2 separate regions of the Homo sapiens genome follow, and region 2 is linked to region 1. The links are contacts of gene promoters, found by promoter capture Hi-C in human tissues and cell types (Jung and others, 2019). All regions are on one chromosome and are shown on one strand. Each heading gives the region's core, a stretch centred on a gene start or on the middle of the fragment in contact. The rest is flanking DNA. Distances are from core to core; before and after follow the strand shown.

Region 1 (3,948 bases), core at 644-3,143:
CTAAAAAATATATATTCATTGAAGCATTTCAGATTTCAGATTTTGGGATACTTAACTGATATAATGCAAATGTTCCAAATTCTGAAAAAAATATCCCAAATCCAAAAATACTTCTGGTCCTAAGCATTTCAGATAAGGGATACCTAACTAGAACCTTAATATCCTGTCAAGTGTTCTTACGGAACTTGAAAAGCTGATTTTAAGATTTATATGGAAAAGAAATGACTAAGAATAGCTAAGGAACTGCTGTAAAAGAAAAACATGTGGGTAAGTAGAGGGCTGGGAAATTTGACCAGATATTAAAAATTATTTTAAAGTTATATTAATACTGTAGATTTGGCTGTGGAATAGAACGTTCTGAAAGGAGCCCACACATATATAGAAATCTGATATACTGTAGAGATGGCACTGCAGATTAGTGGGGACAGGATGACTTCTTCAAGAAATATATAAGGACATTGGAAAAAGTAAAATTACATCTCTATCTTATATCATACACAAAATTACAGATGAATTACAAACCTAAACATGAAAGTCAAAATATTTAAACTTTTAGAAGAAAATATATGAAAACACGTTAATAATCTAAGGATTGAGAAGGATTTCTAAAAAAAAACAACACATTAAAAGTAGTTGCCATAAAGAAAAAAGAAAAATATTTAAACATTAAAATTAATCAGTTTGGTTCACCAAAAGACACCAGAGGGGTTGAAAATATGTCACAAACTGAGCGAAAATAATTGAAACATATATAACTAACAATTAATATCCAGAATATATAAAGAACTCCCATAAATAAATTAGAAAAAGACAACCCAATAGAAAAATGGACAAAGCCAAAAAAGAAAAAAAAAAAAAGCATTTAACATAAGAGGAAACATAAATGGCTCAGAAACATATGGGAAGACACTTAACCTCTTTGGTAATTAGGAAAATACAAATTAAAAGGACAATGAGACACAAGAGTCAGCTAGGACATGGAACAATGGAAATTCTCATACCCTGCTTATCGAGGGCACAAATCGCTTACAACTATGTTGGAAAACATTTTGGCATTAGTAAAGCTGAACATATACATACTCCATGATCCAGTAATTCCATACTGAGAAATATACTCTAGAAAAATTCTTACATATATGTACCAGAAGACATATAAAAGAATGTATTATCTTATTCATTGGGGTCAAAATTAGAAATTAACTCTGAAATGTTTAATTAAAAGTCATACAACATAAACTCATCATCCAAAAGTAATGTTTATGGGCACATAAATATTCTTTTCATGGACTAATTCATTAATTTCTAAATTCATTAATAAATATTTGTACATATTATCCTTTTGTAAATGCAGAGATAAAATACACCTGACAGGTCAATTTTTGATATAGCATGAATGGCTTTTTGTTCACACTGACAGGCATATGTACTTTAATCACCAAAAACTATATCAAGTATTTATAAAAGAAAGTCTCTTTTGAGGATTATTTCAGTTTAATCAGGATTAAAAGGAAATAAAACTTTATCCTTATCATCCTTGAGTGAAATAACTTGAGTTTTAATATCTTTACTTAATCAGAAAATACACAAAAGGAAACAATAATATAGAGAGAGCCTGATGTCCTGTGGTCTTCCTTAATAACAACCCATTTTCAAGAGACTATAATCTACTCAACAGAAAGCATTCTACCAAGGATCTTAGTCAGATTCTGAGAAAATTCACACTCAAAATAAACAATGTGTCACTAAAACCAAAACAATGTAGGTATTAGCAGCTGCATAAAGGTTAGCCTCAATCTAATGAGTCATTTCTAAAATGATGAAAAGTATAATTCTTTGAAGTGCTTTCTATTCAAGCTAGAAAATATATAAAGATACAGAATCGTTTACCAAGCAGGCTGACAGAGAAATTTTTCATTTTCTTTCTTGTTTGACTGTATGCAAACATCAAACTAAGAATGGCAAAAATGAATCTCTCTTCCTATATATTAATACTAACTTTTTCTTTGTTTTCTCAAGGTATTTTACTTTCAGCATCCAAGTCCATAAGAAATTTAGATGATGACATGGTATTTAATACATTCAGGTTGGGGAAAGGCTTTCAGAAGGAAGACACTGCAGAAAAATCAGTTATTGCTCCTTCCCTGGAACAATATAAAAATGATGAGAGCAGTTTCATGAACGAAGAGGAAAATAAAGTTTCAAAGGTAAGTGGCAATGTGACTTGTCGTTTATTTCAATGAAAATTTAAATGATTCTTACAAATCCTCTGAAAAGTAAAACTGATACTTTTATAAACAGAAGTATATGCAAACAGTCACAATATGCATTAGGACGACTGACGATATTTCTTACATGCCAGGTAGTTCTTCCATCCCAGCAAACACCTCTTATCTGAAAGTGTTTTTTCTCCTATAAATTTGCATCTAAGGTATTTTTAAAAAGTCAAAAACAGTGCAGAGTAACTTTGAATTGATCAACAAGAATATTATACAATTGTATTATAGTTCCACTCCGAATACGATAGCTAAAAACCAAATCAACCTTCTCTTTACAGAACACAGGCTCCAAACATAATTTCTTAAATCATGGTCTGCCACTGAATCTGGCTATAAAACCTTATCTTGCACTAAAAGGATCTGTAGCTTTCCCAGCTGAGAATGGAGTTCAGAATACTGAATCAACACAAGAAAAGAGAGAAATTGGGGATGAAGAAAACTCAGCTAAATTTCCTATAGGAAGGAGAGATTTTGACAGTGAGTAGTCTTTTCAAAATTCAATTCTTACATCCTACCACCATTAAACAGAACTCTGAGTTAAAGTGAATTTGGATGCAATCATAACAAAATCAAATAAGACCATGGCTCAATTACACCTGCCAAAAATGTGGGATTAAATAGCAACAATTAATTATTATCATTTTGGTTTACTCAGAATTAGTTATACTAGATCCATTCTTTTTTTCTTAATAAATTTTGTGTGATAATTATAGTCCTTTAAACAATTTAAACTTTCTTCTTCCTTCAGTGCTCAGATGTATGCTGGGAAGAGTCTACCGACCTTGTTGGCAAGTCTGATACCTGTTGGTCCACATCATCTTTTCAGAAGAAAATAAAAGCATTTAATTGCCAATGGGAGGAGAAGCCCATACTGCTACTATAACTTGTGTATGTTAAATGTCTGTTTTAAAAGAAAGTAGTGTTAAGATGTATCAGTAACTGAAATGATATGCTTTCTCTGTGCATTAAACTTTGTGAAAATTCTGCATAATTATGACTTACTAGTATTTTTAAACAATGCTTAACATACTAACCTTACATACACTGTAGACCAAAATAATAAATCATCATAATTTACACCTTGATCTCTTAAAAATTAAGCATGTCTTTGGTGAATGGTTTATAGATACATAAACCTAAAGCATATAAGACACAAATTTATAGTCTAAAAAACTGAGTTAACTTTGCCTGGCCAGAAATCAACTTGTCCTTGGCAGTACATTTATTACTTTTTGCTACTTTAGCTAGTTTGCCGTACAATCTATTCTGTGAATCATTTGATTTCTTAGGTATTTTAGCATTTTTATGTTGAGGTGGTTCATTTCTATTATCACAGAGAATATTTTCACCATCCAAATCCACCTGTTTCCTTTTTGAGCTTTTATTTCCTGTCTGACTGGTTGATTTTCTTGATACTTTTTCATTTTTACTTCTGTCCAGATGAACATTTCCAAAACTCGTTCCAATTGTTGATCTTCCAACAGATGGATTTACACCCTCTGTTATGCAAGATAAAAAGGGGAAAGGAATTACATGATATTGAGTATTAATATTTACGAGAACTTTACAATAAACTTTAAAAATGGCTAACGAATATTCAAATTTTTAAAGTAAAATAATGCTATAAATAATATGATTGACAAATATAGCTACATTACTATCCTATTACTTT
Region 2 (3,948 bases), core at 923-3,422, 570 kb before region 1:
TTTAGTTTAATCTGGAAAAGAAGACCATGTTCCTCAATAATAAAATAGGGTCTGGGGAAAAGAATGAAACTACCCCTTAAAGGAGAAGGAAAATGTGAGTGTGTTCTCAGGCCACTGATTCCGTTATTATTTGTGCTTATAATTTTGAAGCCCTGGGAAAGTTACTTAATATCCCTGAACTTCATTTATGCTCATCTGTAAAATGAGAATATTGATACTGAACACCATGGTTGCTAGGAGGACAATGATAAAAAAGTACACAATGTCATAATTACCATGTAACAAGAGTTGACTAATTCATAGGTATTCCCATTCACCCCCCTTCATTTCATCATGATTATTATTTATGTAGAAAATGAAATTTAGTAATAATGTTTCTAATTAATTCTTCCACTCATTCATTCATTAAGCAGACATTTCTGAAGGTGCCTATGAAACCAGGCACTGTGCCAGGTAAGCACAGTGAGATTCTCTATTTCAGAGACTGGAGGCTATGCTTGACAGCAGTAGTGTTGGTGGGTTGTTAAGTTATAATAATACTCTACATTTACCCAGCCTTTCATATCAGAAAATGCACACATATAAAGTAATCTCACTGAAATCTCCACAATTCTGAGATGTAGCAAACTCCAGGAGGGCAGGGACTTTGTCTGTCTTATTATTATATTCCCTTTCCTTAGCACAGAGTCTGGCACATAATGGAAACCTTATATTATTTCAATGAATGAAGAAAAATTGACGAATCAATGAAATCTGAAAAGATAGTTACTGGTAGCATCATTTTACAGGGAGAGGAATAAAGTGTCATTGGCATTGATATTTATCAGCAATCACAGCAATCACTGAGTATTGCAGTAATTTCACAAACTAAACCATTTGTGGTGGAGATAGCATCTTACCCTTCAATTTTATTGTACAGGAACAGTAGAATAAGAAAAAAAGTAATACAACATAAATGTAATACATAATAGCAAGAATGATAATAACAACACAAATAAAAGCTAACATCCATAGAGTGCTTAACCTGAGGCAGGCTGTGTTCTGATAACTTGATGTGATCATGGTGAGAATGCTGTTGGATATGTTCTACAAGGCAATGTGCCCGCAACTTACTGTATCTTCATCTGCTGAAGCCTTCCTTAGAACTGAGCCTTCGTTGTCTTCTCTTCATTCCTCTTCCAGTGGTAGAAATTGTGAGCTCCTCTGGGGGGTAGGATCTTTGTCTATTTCAGATCTGTATTTCCCAGCACTGTATCATGCATATGGTAAGTGTTCAATGTGCTTTTAATGAATACACGAAAGGGTGATCTAACTGAAGGAAAGGAAATGCTCAGTGGGCCCCCGAGTCATGAGAAGATTTGAAGAAGAGGACCCTTGAACTAAGCCTCAGATATAATTGAACTTTGAAAGAAGCGGGGTCCAGGGGACTGAGGATGATGCATTAGGAGAGCAGTACGAAGGCTCTCTGTCCTGCCTGAAGATCGGGATGGGGTTGAAGTGGGGAAGAACTGGGTTGCCTCTCAGCCTCTTGAGGGATCTTCCAGTCCTTGGCACTGTTGATTAGATATTTGGTTTCAGTCACCGCTCCATTCTTTTTCCATTTTGTGCCTTGATCAGCTCTATTGGTTTACTTTAGAGTTTGATCTTTGCAAGCAGAGTGGAGCCATCGAAGCCTATGGGACAGGACTTGTTTCATCAAATGGGAAGCCGGAGGTAAGAACTTCATTTGTACTTTTTCTAGTAGCATTGCCCAAAGTACGTTCCATGAGAAGTTGTGTTAGGGGATGACATGGGGCTTGTAGAGGTAAAAAAAAAAAAAAAAAAAAAAAGTTCAGGGGTCAAATGTTTGTGGGAAGTGGATTTTTCATCACTGCATAACTTCCCAACAGCTTTCCTAAACACTGAAGCTGTAACAGGGGCTTGCAGAAGACTGTAATGATGTGTAGAGGATTCCAAACTTAGTTAACCGTGGGGCACTTTAAGAGTGGGGTGGGGGAAGGGGGGAGGGAAAGCATTAGGAGATATACCTAATGTAAATGACGAGTTAATGGGTGCAGCACACCAACATGGCACATGTATACATATGTAACAAACCTGCACGTTGTGCACATGTACCCTAGAACTTAAAGTATAAAAAAAAAAAAAAAAAAAAAAAAGAGCGCGTGCGGACGGAATCTCGTGGGATTAGTATTTCACAGAACATTATATTCTTTCTTTTGGAAGCGCTCCCTTAGATCTTTCTATTAAAGAAGTACTTTACCTTAGAGCACTTGGATATATATTAATTCATGGGCTTCCTGCAGATACAAGGATGTTTCTCTCCCTCTACCTTCTCCAGTCTTCACCATCTGCCTTTGTCATGAACAGGCTTCAATTCCCACGTCCGCCCTTTGTGCACACTAGAGGGTGGTGTTGAGCCTGTTTAGAATTTCCCGCACTTGGGACTGAGAAAAAGTATGATGAAGTTGCTCTTCCTTTTTACATAAATCAGGGAGGAATAAGTACCCCGCAGCTGTTGCTCTTACTGTGAAAACCATTGCGGGGGCAGGAGTTTGTTCAAAATTCCTAAATAACAGAAGGTCTTGAAAACCACAGACCAATGCTCCTAAGAAGTTTCTCTGTCTGTCCTTCCATGCCTGGGAGAATCAAGTCCTCATCTGGGCTCTCTAGGGGTTCGTGAGTGCACAACACTGAAAAAATAAAATACAACAAAAGTGTGTCCCTGTTTCATTGTATCTGGAATACTACTATGGTTGGAATGGAGCTGAAATATTTGACAAACTTATGTCACAGAGACACTTCTGAATAAACTCAGTCTTTCTTTAGCTATACCCAATTCTAACCTTCCTGCCTTCTACTCAGTCTTCAAGACACAGTTCAAATTTCTACTCACCTAAAAATTCAAAAGCTAAGAGAATCACCATCTCTGAACTCTTATGCTCAGCCTCGGATTACTAAAGTCTTAGAATAATCTTTAAAAGTTTTCATTTATGTTCCTTTTTTCTATCAACTCTATTGTAAGGGCTTCCAGAATAAGGGCTACATGTTACACTTGCCCATGTTGCCCAGCAAAGGATTAGAAACTTGGCAGAAGGAAACAGGTATCTACCGATTTCCTACCATGCAGCAGGCACTGTGTTGGGTACTTTCACGCCTCTGCTCAATTAAGCCTGAATTTGGCTGGCTGTAAAGCCTGTCGTCTTTTCACAAGATTGTAACCATTCAACGAGTACATTTAAAATGGCAGAATATGTTGGACAACCTCATGTCCTGGTTTGCCAAGGTCAGTCTTGGTTTATATCTGTTGTCCTGGCATAATTATTAATAGTATCTCGTGTCACTCTCAAAAGTGTTGCAGCTTGGTCTATAAGTTATATGACAACCAATCTCTGGAGCCAGACAGTTTGGGTTGGGACCTTGTTTCTACCATTCACTAAACTCTGTGATATTAAGCCAGTTACTTAACTTCTCCAGGCTTTGGTTTCCTCATGTAGACCAGGCTTTGGTTTCCTCATGTAGAGATTGAGGATGATACCTTCCTTAGTAAGGTCTGATGACGATTACACAGTAAAGTGTTTGGACAAATGGCTGGCACACTGTAAGCACTCAAACATGGCAGCTATTGTTAAAATGAGTTCTTGATCATGTGAGCAACACCAGGAAGGCACAAAGTATTGCAGTACGAAGTGACTCAGGAATGAGAGAGAAGCTAAAACCTGAGTGATGGTTTTCTTTTTTTTTTTCTTTTTTCCTTTTCCTTTTTTTTTTTTTTTTTTTTTTGAGATGGAGTTTCACTCATGTTGCCCAGGCTGGAGTGCAGTGGCGCGATCTTGGCTCACTCCACATCCTGGGTTCAAGTGATTCTCCTGCCTCAGGCTCCTGAGTAGCTGGGATTACAGGCATCTGCCACCACACCTGGCTAATTTTTGTACTTTTAGTAGAGACGGG

The links. Contacts are between HindIII fragments. The study calls those that stand out against the background at their distance.
Region 2: a fragment that was not itself captured here is called in contact with the fragment with the promoter of PMCH in region 1 in 2 of the 25 tissues and cell types used here (lymphoblastoid cells and mesendoderm cells).

Annotation. Positions count from the first base shown.
Region 1 is chr12:102,195,778-102,199,725 of GRCh38, reverse strand. It overlaps PMCH (pro-melanin concentrating hormone), which reads left to right and starts at 1,893. Exons shown (of 3, transcript NM_002674.4): 1 at 1,893-2,204; 2 at 2,555-2,753; 3 at 3,025-3,267. The coding sequence starts at 1,956. The coding sequence ends at 3,074. PARPBP (PARP1 binding protein) reads right to left here. Exons shown (of 11, transcript NM_017915.5): 11 at 2,206-3,775. The coding sequence ends at 3,435. The HindIII fragment of the contact is 16,025 bases long and covers 1-3,948 here.
Region 2 is chr12:102,768,210-102,772,157 of GRCh38, reverse strand. No RefSeq gene overlaps it. Among named protein-coding and RNA genes, the nearest start is that of LINC00485, 54 kb to the left of the region's middle. The HindIII fragment of the contact is 9,213 bases long and covers 1-3,948 here.